Regions from separate parts of the Homo sapiens genome. Here region 1 is linked to region 2. The links are contacts of gene promoters, found by promoter capture Hi-C in blood cells and fetal thymus (Javierre and others, 2016). All regions are on one chromosome and are shown on one strand. The core of a region is centred on a gene start or on the middle of the fragment in contact, and the rest is flanking DNA. Distances in the headings are between cores, read along the strand shown. Region 1 holds the start of LOC105374981 (a long non-coding RNA gene). Region 2 holds the start of GMNN (geminin DNA replication inhibitor).

Region 1 (7,151 bases), core at 1,416-3,915, 160 kb before region 2:
TCCTCATGAGACAACCCTCATGAGATTGTACCCATGAGATTGGTACCTCCTCTTTGCAACATGAAAACAAGAATACTATTAAAAATCATGTTCCAGCCAGGCGCAGTGGCTCACGCCTGTAATCCCAGCCCTTTGGGAGGCCAAGGCGGGCAGATCACTTTAGGTCAGGAGTTCAAAATCAGCCTGACCAACATGGTGAAACCTCGTCTCTACTAAAAATACACAAACAATTAGCTGGGCATGGTGGCGCACACCTGTAGTCCCAGCTAGTCTACTGGGGAAGCTGAGGCAGGAGAATCACTTGAACCCGGGAGGTGGAGGTTGCAGTGAGCCAAGGTCGAGCCACTGCACGCCAGCCTGAGCGACAGAGACAGACTCTGTTTCAAAAAAAAAAAATCGTATTCCTTTTGTCCCAGCTCTTTAGACATGGCATTTTACAGTTAGACAAATTAGACAAATTTTTAGGTGCATCTTTACTGGCAAAGTTACCCAAAGATAAGATTATTTCTGACTCTGTGGTTTTTTTCACCTTTTTCTTTTCTGATTCCTACCACTCCTCACAGTTTCAATTCCTCTCTCCTACTTTGTTCTCCTTTCTGTTTCGAACATTTTGCTCCTAATTAGTTCAGGTTTTTCTCCCTGTTCAGAAGTTTGTATATCTGAAAATTAAGTATTTTAAAACACTTTCTGAAAGGAGTGGGAAATTCTCCAGAAGCACAGAGAGAAGATTGTGAGGCTCTTCTGTTGGAATAAAAGCCCACGTTGGATGTTGAAATTTTTCCACTAGTATGGTTTCCTCCTGTACACGCTTCACAGGTGGTATTTTTTTTCAAAACAGCAAACTATGCAGAAATATTTTAAATTAATAAATTATTAATTATTATAGCCTCAATTCTCATAACTCAAAATAATAATACTGTGTTGATATTCATATGTTCAACACAACACATGCCTTCTCACTTATATATTTACTTAAATATTTCACACCATACCTGAAATATAGTAGGTATTCATTACTATTCTCCAAATGAATGAAGTGAGTAAAGTTCCACAAAGCAAGGACCAGACCTTTCATATCATTGTAATTCACAGACCTAGTATGGCATAAAGTGGGCACCAACTCTTTGGAGTATAAAAGCTTTGCTATGTTCCTGTGCTTATGACCTTGATGAAATTCTGCTGTTAAATTTAGTACAGGTTGTCACAAATCACCATTTGATCAAAGTAGTTGCCTTATACTGGTTCATCTATACTTTTGTTCTCTTCCCCAAATCCAATTATTGGAGCTGTTTGCCTCAATCACTGAAAAGCAAGATTCTTTCATTGTTGTTTCAGACTTACTCCTCATTTCTTAGTGAAAACTACTCTCTGTGACCTACATCTCCCTTAACTAAGCACTGAATTTCCCTATCTTTAGTCTTTCTTTTCTAATATGGATTCGAAGGGGATCAGAATGTGTCCCCCAAAATATGCTAATTTAGCATAAGTACTATTTTGAGCTATTTTTGAGAAAGAATCTTCTGCCCTTCTCCTTTCTGCTTTAAGTGCCATAAATTTCCACTTGTAAAGGTGTTTTATTTCCCATCTTGGGTGACTAAGCCTCATGGTCCTCTTCCTGATATGAGAGATGAGTCTGCATAACAATCCTTAGCTATCATACATTCCTAGTTACCTTCCCACAATTTGCCACTCTTAGGAGCCCACTCCCCTACTCTGCCTCCTTTGTCTAGTCACTTCTTCACAGTTTATTGCACTTTGTTAAAATTTTATATAAGCTCAGCATTCTTTTAGACTTTACATAGATAAGAGATAGTGTAGCCTGGTGTTTAAGAGTTTGGACTCTGGGATCAAATCTCAGTACCTCTACCACTTACCAAATGTATGACCTTGGGTGGATCACTTCACCTCTTGGGCCTTAAACTAAAATAGAGATAATAAATATATCTATATCTTAGGGTTGATATAGGAATTAAGTGAATCAAAGCACTTAAAACTGTTGCTGGCACTCTGTGTTAGCGATTACCTACATTTTTTTATTTGCTCATTTTGGACACTCATATAAATATAATTATACCATTTATAATTTTCTGAGACCTTTCAAAGTCAATATTATGTTTTTGAAACTCATCCATATTGATGCATGCATATGTAGTTTATTAATTTTTCTTTTTAGTTAACACATCATGCATGTATGTCATATCTCTCTAAGGTAATTGTAAACTTTGGAGAGCAAGAACCATGTTTTCTATCCTCTGTGCTTTCAAGGAGTTCGTGGTAGCATTTGTGATTTGTTCTTTGAGATGATTAGCTGTGTTTCTGAGATATCTAAATTGGAGAAGAGGAGACTGAGGGAAACTTCCTAAGGGTTATTGAGGTTTTATATGGAGTGTGGTGACTTCTCATTCTCTATCCCCATTGAGCCTTCAATTTGGGAAATATCCTAAGCGTCCCTGTGAGAGACTTAGGCGTATAATTATAACTGGGTATTTACTGTGTACCATGTACTGTGTCAGCTTCTTTACATAAATTATCCTACTTAATCCTCAAAACAAGCCAAATGAGAAAGTATATTATTTTCTAGGACTTCTGTAATGAAGTACCACAAACTGGGTGGCTTAAGCAACAGAAACTTACTGCATCACAGCTGTGGAGGCTAGAAGTCCAAGGTCAAGGTGTTGGCAGGATTGGTTCTTCTGAGGGATGTGAGGGAGAATCTCTTGCAGGCCTCTCCCCTAGCTCATGGTGGTTTACTGGCAGTCTTTGGTGTTCCTTGGCTTGTGGATCTCTGCCTTCATCTTCACATACTATCCTCCCTATGTCTATGTCTTTGTCTAAATCTCTCCTTTTTATGAGGAAGTTAGTCATATTGGATTAAGGACCCATCCTCCTCCAATATGATATAAGTTCATCCTAACTAATTATATCTTCAATGGCCCTGTTTCTAAGTAAGGTCACATTCTGAGGTACTGGGGGTTAGGACTTCAACATATGAATTCAACAGGGGAGACACAATTCCACCCACTTAAAATGAAACAGGCCTACAGAGGTTATGCTAACTTTTTGAAGTGGAATAGCTAGGGCCCTCAGGTTCACGTGGTAACCAGGTAGTTCTGAGGTGGGAGGTGAGGGAGGTAGTGCAGGTCCCCAAGAGCCACGGGGATGCTGCAGTGAACTGGACTGTGTGCAGTCACTCCCATAAGTTGTCCAGACATGAGGTAACAGAGTGAGCTCTGGAATTAGTCAAATCTGCCACTCACTAGCTGCCTGATCTTAGGAATGTTTTTCAAGCCCTCAGAGCCCCCATTGCTTCATCTGTAAAATGGGATAATAGCACCCACCTCATGAAGTTGTGGAGATTAAAGGACATAGGACAGTAGTTGAGAAATGTAGTGATTATCAAAATGGACACCCATCCTCTTATCCCAACCACACAAAAGAGAGCTTTAGTCCACATCCAAATTTCCTACACCTAGGCCCATTTTAATTAATTTAATTTATGTAACTAAGTGCAACCCTTGTCCAGAAACATCATTCAAGTGGGGATCATGGTAGGGGGTGGTAAAAGGGTCAGAAAGGGGAGATGCAAAGGAGAGCTAGAGAAAAGGATAACTCCAGTTCTCTGCCTGTCAGTGTGTCTCAAGGTGGGCATTATTGGTATTTGGAGCTGGACAGTTCTTCCTGTTGAGCTACTGTTCCATGCATTATGGTAAGGTTGATATCCCTGGGCCCCTGAGTGCTAAGACATTAAATACCAGTAATAACCCCCAGTCATTGTGCCACCCAAAACACCCCAGACATTTCCAAGCTCTCCTCTAAGGATGGTTCCAGCCCTGATTGACAACAATTGGTGATCCCAGCAGGACCCAAGCTGTACACTGTCTTTGGGAACTGCTGCAGCCACCAATGCAGGGATGAACTGACTGTTGCTGCTCAGTTAACCCTCAGTGTCTGATTCCTGAATTCCTCTGGGGTGATCCCTTCTCACTGCTGGATTTCTCCAACCCTGTTGTCCACAGTCTCTTCTGGGAGAAAATGGTGCAATTTCAAGGTTGCAGTTACAGGAGGAGGGGACAGTTTCTCTAGGGTAACACTGGGAGTATCTTCAAAACCATGCAGTAAATAAAGTGCCAAAAATAAACACCTTGGGTCAACAGCTCCTCACTGTCATCTCCATTTGCATTTTCTAAGCTTCTGGCCACCTAAGAGATCTTACAACACAGTGGAGTGCTCTGGGAAACCCCGAAATGAAGTCTCAGTATTACTCAGAGAGATGTGTGTTTGTTTGTGCAGCCAGACAGAATTTGGCACACGTTGGGTAGCTCGATATGGTGATGCCAGCCAATGGTGCTCGCGTAGAAGCTCAGTGTTCACTCATCCCTTTGGGAGGACTGCTTTTTGAGTTACATTTTCTTCTTTCTCCTTTAGTGATACAGTCTGAAGTATCAAACTGAGTAAATATTGTGAAATGCAAGATGTTTGACCAAAACCAGTTATCTATTCATTGACTATAGATTTAATCGAGCCACATAAAGCCTAGATATGGTTCAGTTTGGTTTAAATGCTGTAAAGTTTCCAATCCTTAAATGCAAGAGGTTTGAAAAAAAGAAAAGAAAAGAAAAGAAAAATGCAACTATTACTGAGCAAAATAAAAGCTCTGTCCTCTAAATGCCTGCTTTGGTTTAACATAGTGGCTTGCTTTACTTTCAGATAAATTGTAATTGAAGCAAAACCAAGATATGAGAAATATGAACTCCCTCTTTCAACAAAACCCATTGTGTTCAAATTCATAAGCAAGAAAGTTAAGCACCCACCTTCCTCTTTAAGGAAATATGAAAGTTGTTGCTTTGAAATAGAATTCATTGCATTCAGACTTTGAGTGATATCTGTATTCATATCCAACCGGATCTGCAGCCCTCTTCAAAAAATTCTTTCTCCTCAGTGGTGAGAATTACCCCACCTGGGATTCACTCTTCACAAGGCTCAAGAAGCCTATTCATATGAATGAAACTGCTTTCTTCAGGGCAGATGCGGAAGCTGCCCTCCAGAGGGCTTGGGCAACCCAAGGAAAGGAAATCACCTCGGTCGGCAGTGTGACTGCTGAGACTGCCGGGGCTGCTGCCTGCTGCTTCTCGCGCCTGTCCTCTCCAAGATGCAGTTTTTTGATGCTGAGGAGCTCCTGGTCGATGAAGAGGATGATGTTTTTGGTGAAGGTAAATGCATCTTTCTGGCAGGAGGCTCTCCGGTCTGCTTTGCTTTGTTTTGACACCACTGGACACTTTTGCCCAGCTTGGGCAAGGACTTGAGTATTTTGAAATGATAAAAACAAAGCATCCTGAGTGAGGTAGTGGCTGCAAATATCAACTTAGGCACTGAAGGAATACACAAGGCAAGGGGTGGAACAAGGGGTTGAGTCATTCCCGCAAATACATTTTTTAAAGTCATGACTAAAATAAAGGTTTAGTTTAGGCTGGAAAATAGTACTAAATTTTTTGCCTTGTCTCTCTTCTGTGCTATCTCTTGTCTAACACCTTAAGGAAAGCCTGTCACAGTGGTTTGAGCACAGCAGGGCTGCTAGGGAAGAAGTTAAATAAATGGACCAGGAGTGGTTTTTCATGGTACCATGTTGCTTTGATTTGCACTTCTCTCTTTCTGTCTCTCTCTCTCTCTGTCTCTCTCTCTCTGTCTATCTTTCTCTCGGTCCTTCTCTTTTTTTTTTTTTTTTTTTTTGTTGTTGTTTTTTGAGACAGAGTCTTGCTTTGTTGCTCAGGCTGGAGTGCAGTGGTGCAATCTCAGCTCACTGCAACCTCCGTCTCCCGGGTTCAAGTCATTCTCCTGCCTCAGCCTCCCAAGTAGCTGGGACTACAGGCGCCCACCACCATGCCCAGCTAATTTTTGTATTTTTAGTAGAGATGGGATTTTGCCATGTTGGCCAGGCTGGTCTTGAAATCCTGACTTCAGGTGATCCACCCTCCTTGGCCCCCCAAAGTGCTGGGATTACAGGCGTGAGCTACCATGCCCGGCCTGGGTCCTTCTCTCTTACTCTTCCTCACACATACTTGGCACTCCAACCCTCCATTCCCTTTTCCAATTTTCTTTTTTCCCAAGTCGGGATACTGGAGCCCTGGTAGCTTCCAATCCCCATTGGCACTGCTCAGTTTTCTGTTCTCATCTTGCAGCTTTTCCATGACTTGACCTATCCACTGGAATTTAACTGTAAAGGTTGCGATTTTAAAGGGATGATCTAGTCATTGGATGGATGTTTTGTTCAAATGCTGCCTATGAGATTGGGCTATAGGCAAAAGCTTTTTTAGAATTTGGAGCCACCTAAATAAAGGAAATTTGGACTCAAGAATCTCGTGAATTTGATTATTTTCCGCAAGAAACTACGTCTAGCAATTTTTTAAAAAACTCTATTCAGTAATTTTTTAAAAGGAACAGTAGTAAGGTTTTTGTGTATGTGTAATTACCCAAGCAATACAAGTTCGCTGAAGAAAAATTAGAGTGTCGCAAAGAACCCCTTGTAATCTAGTCATGTAGAATGTAATCATGGTTAATATTTTGATGTTGTCTTTCTGCTATGTTGTTCTAGCTACAGAAATATTTAAAATCATTAGTTGGGTTTTTATCACAACTTAAATCAATTTGAAGAATATCTATTGAGCTTCGCTGCTGTTTACCAAGTTATCATTCTGTTGTGTTACTTTGATGGCAGGCGTTTAGGCCACCAACACCTTGAAGTTTGATCTTAGGCCCCATTCTTCAGCTTTCACTTCTTAAAGATGTTTCCTCTTTAAGCAAACACCTTAAAGAGAAAATTTATACTTAGATACTAACTCTTTTGAGGACCTGAAAAATGCTCACAACTATGAAGATAAGCTTAGAACGGAAAAATTGGCAATCATTCACCCACACCTCCCTCCAGGAATGGCATTCCAAAACGCCCAGCCCACATTTCTTTGCCTATAGGAATTTTGCTCTTTTACATCTGGCTATGATACTTAAGAGCGCCCTCTATAGGCTGATGCACTGCACTCTGGATTATGCGTGGCCCCATCCTGAAGGGAAGCGTTAAGACCAAGCAGGGCTGGATGAACCTGTGTGTTCTCTCTCCTGAGCATTCATCATTTCCAAGGTGATTATTGTAACCTCAC
Region 2 (7,324 bases), core at 3,478-5,977:
CAGCGTGAGAAAGTTACTGATTCCACACTGTACTTCACATGATAAGAGTTCACCTTTCCCACGGTAAAGTTTCTACTGCTGATTATTATCTCACCATTTAACTGAAGGACAAATGCCAGCTACTGTGAGGACAAATATTACATCAACATTTCAGATATAATTTAGATTATAGATTAGTCAACAGTCTCCAGACAAATAAAAGAAAATGTAACGTTGGAACCTTACTAACAAGAGGTGTTATTTAAATGCTTTCTGTTAATAATGGTCAAAGAAGCCAGCTAAGTAACTGTCACCAAAAAAAAAGACCATTTCCAAGATTTAACTTTTATTTATATAAGCTATATAGACTTTTGCCTAAAACAATGTAACATTACTATTATTATTTTCTGTATATAGAGTATGCATTGGAATAATAGACTCTTAAAGCCAGAAAGTTTCTTGTATATTAATGGGTCTTAACCTTTTTGGAAAACTATTTAATACTCTGTGAATCCTCTCCCCAAAAAAATTCACATAAAAGCACATTCACACAGAATTTTGCATGCAACTCACAAGGATCTAGTTCTAGTCCAGTTCTCCCAATTTACAGATGAGTAAACTAAGGCTGAAATGCTAACTAACCCACCCAAGGTCTCAGTTTTGGAGGTAGAACCAAAACCAAACAGAACCTAGTATCCTTTATATTCAAGATAGTTTCACTGTAGCTAGTAAACACAAGACTTTCTTTAAAATGTAATCTGCTGGAAATATATAAATTATTTGGCTGTGATTTGCTTCAAATTAATCCACTGAAGGAAAAGTGGAGTAAATAAGGACATAGATGAAACCAGATTGGCCATATAGCGGTAATTGCTGAAGCTGGGGAAGTAAATTATTAAAATACTTTTAAATATTTCAAAAATTTCATAACAAAAATTTTAAATAATCACACACAAAGCACAGTGGGAAGATGCCATCATCCTAAATGGAAGCTAATGGAATCAAATTCACAAATTGTCAATGCGAATATAATGTCAATTGACATTCTTATTCAAGAAAAATATTGTAAGAATCCTAAGAAAAGCAAGGCAAACAAAAAACCCATCAAAAGGTACTTGCTTATACTTATCAATGGCTTTTAGGTACTCAATTTAATTTACTTAATATAAAAAAAATTTTTTTAGGTACAGGGTCTTACTCTGTCACCCAGGCTGGAGTGCAGTGAAGCAATCATAATTCACCAAAGCCCAAACTCCTAGGCTCAAGCAATTCCTCCCACACCTCAGCCTCCCAGTAGCTGGGATTACCAGTGGGTGCCACCACACCCAGCTAATTATGGTTTTTTAGAAACAGGGTCTCCCTTTGTTGCCCAGGCTGTTCTCAAAGTCCAGAGCTCAATCAATCCTCCTACTTCAGCCTCCCAAGTAGCTGGGATCACAGGCATGAGCCACCATGGGCACCTGGCTCTTTATTTATTTAAAACCGCAAATTGATAGTTTACCTGAAGATGTGATCCAATTCCCAAGGTATTCATATAATTTAAGTTGTGTGGAAGGACCTAGCTAAATTGTAAATTAACTTAGAACCATAAATATGAATCTAGTCAGAAGTATAAACTCAAAACTAAACAAACTCTGTCCTGCTGTCATAAGAGTAAATACTTGGAATAAGATTTCCAGTGAAAGTATCATATAGGGATTGAAAAAGTATCACAAATCAAATAGGTTAGATGGTAATGAATATGGTATACTCTAGAAAAATGTGTAATATAATGCAAAACATGTCTGTGGTCAAAGACTCTTAATTCTGAAGATATACACAATGGATTTTAATAACATTTCATGAAATATAAGAGTAGAAACAAAGCAGTAATAATCTCATACATAGAAAATCCTAAAGATACTTCTGGAATCTTCACAGAGAAAATACAAAAAGAAAAGAAAATCCTGAAGAATCTACTAAAAAACAATTAGAACTATTAAGTTCAGCAAGGTTTCAGGACACAAAATCAAGACACAAAAGTCAATTATTTTCCTATACAGTAGCAATGACCAAATGAGAATGAAATTAAGGAAACAATTCCATTCACAGTAACCTCAAAAAGAATACTTAGGAAAAAATTTAACATAAATAGTGTAAAATTCATGCTCTGAAAACTACAAAATACTGTTGAAAGACCAAAATAAGAGAGACAACCCATATTCTTGGGTCAGACTTAATATTCAACCGTAATTAGTTTTTTAAAAATGTTCTCTATTGTTACTCATCCTCTGACTAACTCAAGGCTTACAGAAATTATAGCCAGGCTAAATTTGGATAAATTATGTCAAAATACTTTTAGCCCCATGCTTTCTACAAAAAAAAATTAAAGTTATTCAATCACATACCTTTATATTCTCTTTGATTTCTTCTTGTTTCTGCTTCATACTGGGATTCATTATGTAGATGGTGAAGCACAGAAGACTAGTAATTAAAAAACAATATGGTTTGCACCCCCGAAGGTGGAGTCTAGGTTTAAAATACTTACAATCATAAAAATTATACTATTGTACAGTAGAACTATTATTTTTTCTCTCTTAATCCAAACTCAGCCCTGTCAATGACTAAGGTGACTAAAGTTAATGACTCTTGATATCTATATTTTACATATATACACACATAATAATTATAGCTGAAAAAATGAAATTAATGTATTTTAAACCAATTTCTAAAACTGGTTTAAAATTTCTAAACATATTGTCCTGGATTAAATAGTCACCAGAAAAAGCAAAATAAACAGATACTAGGGTATGCCCAGGTCCATCCTAAAGAGCAGCATCTTAACTTTCCTGATTCAAAGACAGATTTAAGGTATAATAAACTGGGCTCTGACAATAACTTAACACAGACTTAATATCTGGTCAAATGAGATCATGCATTTACATTTGTAGGAAATGTTTAACCAGTAACATGAACTGAAGGACTAACAAGCAAGAAAGAGGGAAAAGGTAGAAAGGGATCTATGTAATGCGGTTGACTAGACCACTGGGCCAAACTCAGCATCTGAACTGCTGCTCCACTGCCCACTGCCCACTGCCCACTACCCATTGGCCCCTGCCGTGTCTGCGCCTGTGCCTCGTCGATAGATGTCCCTAATTTTTGTGGCCATGCCTTTACTCAGTGCAGTGGCTTCTAACATTAATACATTTTACCTTGTGTCCTGGCGCGTGCACACACATGTGCAAACAAAAAAGCTTAGGAAAGGCCGGGCGTGGTGGCTCACATCTGTAATCCCAGCACTTTGGGAGGTCGAGGCAGGCGGATCACCTGCATGATCACCAAAGTGCTGGAAGGTCGAGGCAAGCGGATCACCTGAGGTCAGAAGTTCGAAACCAGCCTGGCCAATATGGTGAAACTCCATCTCTACCAAAAATACAAAAATTAGCCGGACGTGGTGGTGCTCGTCTGTAGTCCCAGCTACTCGGGAGGCTGAGGCAGGAGTATCGCTTGAACCCGACAGGTGGAGGTGGCAGTGAGCCGAGATCCTGCCACTGCACTCCAGCCTGGGCAACAGAGCGAGACTCCGTCTCAAAAAAAAAAAAAGCTTAGAAAACAAAACAATCTAATTTGTGCGGGCATCCTGCTATTTTCTACTCTATTTCATGTTAAGAAAATGGTGTTCGGGCCCCAGTAAACAGACCCTACGCAATGTTCTTCAAACTGCGGGTCGCGGGCCGTGATCTCGAAATTAGTGAGTCATGAGCAACACTGCTTAGAAAAATGCAACTGAACAGAATGGAATTGAAGAGACGAGAAACATTGCTTCCATCACGTCTCATTTGGTTAGATAGCTGTGTCCTAGGTTGCGACGTAAAACGTACCTTAGTGTGAAAAAAGCTGAAAGCCACTTAGCATTCTAATCCTTCACAAGTTTCCCACGCCTGTCAGCGACCTTGCAACCCTTACTTGTTATTCTCCAGTTCCTTTAATAGCTAGATTAAAAACCCTGGCACAGGACAGGGTCCATGCGAAACCCGTATCAACAACGCCAGTATCCGTTTAATGGGAGACGCAGAATTCAGCCACCTCTTTCCATGAGCCAAATTTGCAGATCCCTCAGATCAGGACCAGCCACTTAACTGCCAAGAGGATGGATGCTTCGCCTCATCCCCACAGCTGGCAAGCCCAGGCTGAGTCCCTTACCCGCGTTGCAGTCCCCAAGCCCGGACCCAGCCAACTTGTCCCGGAGGCCCAGCGCCAGGCTAGGGGGCGGGCAGTGTGGCCCCGCGCGTCCGAGCCTACCAACCGCGGCGCGCGCCTCGGGAACTGCGCCAGCCAGCCAATAGGAAGCGCGGAAGTGAGAGCGCGCCAAAACCGACCCAGCCAATGGGGCAGTCCCTCGACTCACCTCCCAACCCCGCCCCGGCTCCCGCGACCGTTCAACAACCCCTTCGCCCTTACCCAGGCCGCGGCCCTGCAGCTGTCAAAGTAGGACGCGGCTTCAGAGGTTGGCCGGAGGGAAAGCGAGTCGTCTAGAGGCTGTGCGCCTTGCGCCCCTGCGTACCCACTTCCTGCCGCCTCTTGCCCACTTACTGGGTGGAGACGCTCAATCCTCGTAGCGAACGCACGTAGCTATGGCTGCAGCACCTCGCAAAAGGCCACAGCTCACCTACGCTGATCCCCACGGTCGCTGGAGTGCCCGGCGCGCTCTGCAGTAAAGCCCTGCTAACTCCGCTCGCCCGCTCCGAACAACCACGTGACCAACTGACGCAGACGAGGGGCGGGGCCTCTGGATCCCGCGAATCGCCTCTTCCCTCGGCCCCGCCCCTTCCTGCGCCTGCGCGGTCAACGGTAGCGAGTACTTGAGGACCGTGGGGGTTTTCTGCGGGCTGGGAGGCCTGTGCCCTTTGACCCTCCCCTCCGACCCTGCTCTTGGAACTTCCTTAAAATGCAAAGTTTTAGCCCTTTACGAAAGGGAGAAAGATTTGCCTCCATTAGTCGTTAGCACCAGAAGAACAAAATATTGTATGTGCATATATATTAATATGTAGTACACGACATATATTTGTGTAAAGCCCTGGCTCCACGGACTCGTAGTTGTATTAGGGGCTTTTATATTTTGGCTTTTTGTGTTTTGACTATGGTGTGGTGCGGTAGGAATTGTTCAGGAGACAACCGATTATCAGTTAATCCTGCAGCTATTCATTGAGCGCCTTATACGTGCCAATTACTACTGTTCTAGGCACTGAAATTACAACTGCTGTTGCAATTTGAAGGAGCAGAAACACCTTGGTAATAATTACGTCTAGCCTTTTCCTTCTTTTTTTTTTTTTTAATTGAAACGGAGTCTCGCTCTGTCACCCAGGCTGGAGTGCAGTGGCGCGATCTCGGCTCACTGCAAGCTCCGCCTCCCGGGTTCAAGCGATTCTCCTGCCTCAGCCTCCCGAGTAGCTGGGACTACAGACAAAGGGAGACCCTGTCTCAAAAAAAAATTAATTTTAAAATATTTTAAAAATAAAAAGCAGAAGGAAGGCGTTATCGAGTACAAATAAGGGACATATTACCAAATGCAATGTATGGATCTCGTCTGAACTAAACACTGTATTTAAAAAAATACCCAAGGGAAATTTGAACACTGACTGAATATTTTGGGATGGTAAGATATGAGTTGTTTAAGGTTACCTGATGAGCAATGGGTTAAAAAAAGAGATTAGTTGTAATGACAATATTGTGGGTTTTATTGTAATAGCTTCTACCTATAAATGGTAATTACAGATGAAATTTTATACCATATATTTTATTTGAAATAATTATTGAGAGAAGCAAGGGAAAAGGTATAAATCAAGCTTTCTCAGTATGGGCTCTATTGACATTTTAGACTGGGCAAATTGTTCGTGGTGGGGGCTGTCCTGGGCATTGTATGCTGTTTAGCAGTATCCCTGGCCTCTACCCTCTAGCTACCAGGAGTACATCCCAATTGTGAAGACCAAAAATGTCTGCAGACCTTGTCAGATAACCTTCCGCAGGGCAAAATCATCCCCAGTTGAGAACCACTGGTGCGAATAAAACAGTATTGGCCTTGTGTTGATAACTGCTGAGGCTAGTATGGATGAGTACATGAAGATTTTTTATTCACTCCCTCTACTTTTATATCTGTTTGGGATTTTCAATAATAATTTTTTTTTTTGAGACGGAGTCTTGCACTGTCACCAGGGCTGGAGTGCAATGGTGCAACCTCGGCTTACTGCAACCTCTGCCCCCCCCGGGTTCAAGCGATTCTCCTGCCTCAGCCTCCCAAGTAGCTGGGATTACAGGTGCCCGCCACCACACCCAGCTAATTTTTTGTAGTTTTAGTAGAGACAGGGTTTCACTATGTTGGCCAGGCTGGTCTTGAACTCCTGATCGTGTGATCTGCCCACCTTGGCCTCCCAAAGTGCTGGGATTACAGGCGTGAACCACTGCACCTGGCCAATAATAAAATTTTTAAAATATTAATTTAAAAAGGATTAAATGATGGGATAAGGAGGTAGAAATACTGGAAAATGTTTAGCCATAAAAATTTCAGCAACCACTAGGCACCATGGCTCATGCCTGTAATCCCAGCACTTTGGGAGGCTGAGGCTGGCGGATCACCCTGAGGTCAGGAGTTCAAGACCAACCTGGCCAACATGGTGAAACCCTGTCTCTACTAAAAATACAAAAATTATCCAGGCATGGTGGCATGCGTCTGTAATCCCAGCTACTCAGGAGGCAGAGGCAGGAGAATAGCTTGAACCCAGGTGGTGGAGGTTGCAGTAAGCCAAGATCACACTACCACAATCTAGCCCAGGTGACAGAGTGAGACTCTATCTCAAAAACAAAACAAAACAAAACAAAACAAAACTTTAGCAACCACAAATATTTACACCAATTTTTTTATTTTTATTTTTATTCAGATGGATAAATAATAATTACATTGCACCAATTTATTTTTTGACAAACCATTTCTTTGATGAGTATAAGCACAGCTAAGAGAAGTGAAATGATGAAACACATTACTAATGAAGGTTTTGGGACTTGAGACTCAGATGATGTTAAGAATAATATACTCAGGATTGGCCGGGTGCAGTGGCTCACCCTGTAATCCCAGCACTTTGGGAGGCCGAGGCGGGTGGATCACGAGGTCAGGAGATCGAGACCATCCTGGCTAACATGGTGAAACCCCATCTCTACTAAAAACACAAAAAAAAGTTAGCCGGGCATGGTGGCAGGTGCCTGTAGTCCCAGCTACTCAGGAAGCTGAGGCAGGAGAACGGCGTGAACCCAGGAGGCAGAGCTTGCAGTGAGCGGAGATCGCGCCACTGCACTCCAGCCTGGGCGACAGAGT

What was found. Contacts are between HindIII fragments. The CHiCAGO score rates a contact against its expected background, and 5 or more counts as called.
Region 1: a contact is called between a fragment that was not itself captured here and the fragment with the promoter of GMNN in region 2, in 1 of 17 cell types (neutrophils). The highest score is 6.9, in neutrophils.

The regions. Positions count from the first base shown.
Region 1 is chr6:24,933,897-24,941,047 of GRCh38, reverse strand. LOC105374981 (a long non-coding RNA gene) reads right to left here and starts at 7,073. Exons shown (of 3, transcript XR_007059514.1): 1 at 6,984-7,073; 2 at 6,678-6,802. RIPOR2 (RHO family interacting cell polarization regulator 2) reads left to right here and starts at 5,088. Exons shown (of 22, transcript NM_001286445.3): 1 at 5,088-5,210. The coding sequence starts at 5,150. RefSeq lists an enhancer at 4,206-4,375. The HindIII fragment of the contact is 3,050 bases long and covers 1,141-4,190 here.
Region 2 is chr6:24,772,340-24,779,663 of GRCh38, reverse strand. It overlaps GMNN (geminin DNA replication inhibitor), which reads right to left and starts at 4,727. Exons shown (of 7, transcript NM_015895.5): 1 at 4,420-4,727; 2 at 2,367-2,442. The coding sequence starts at 2,417. RefSeq lists an enhancer at 3,733-3,812. The HindIII fragment of the contact is 2,242 bases long and covers 3,565-5,806 here.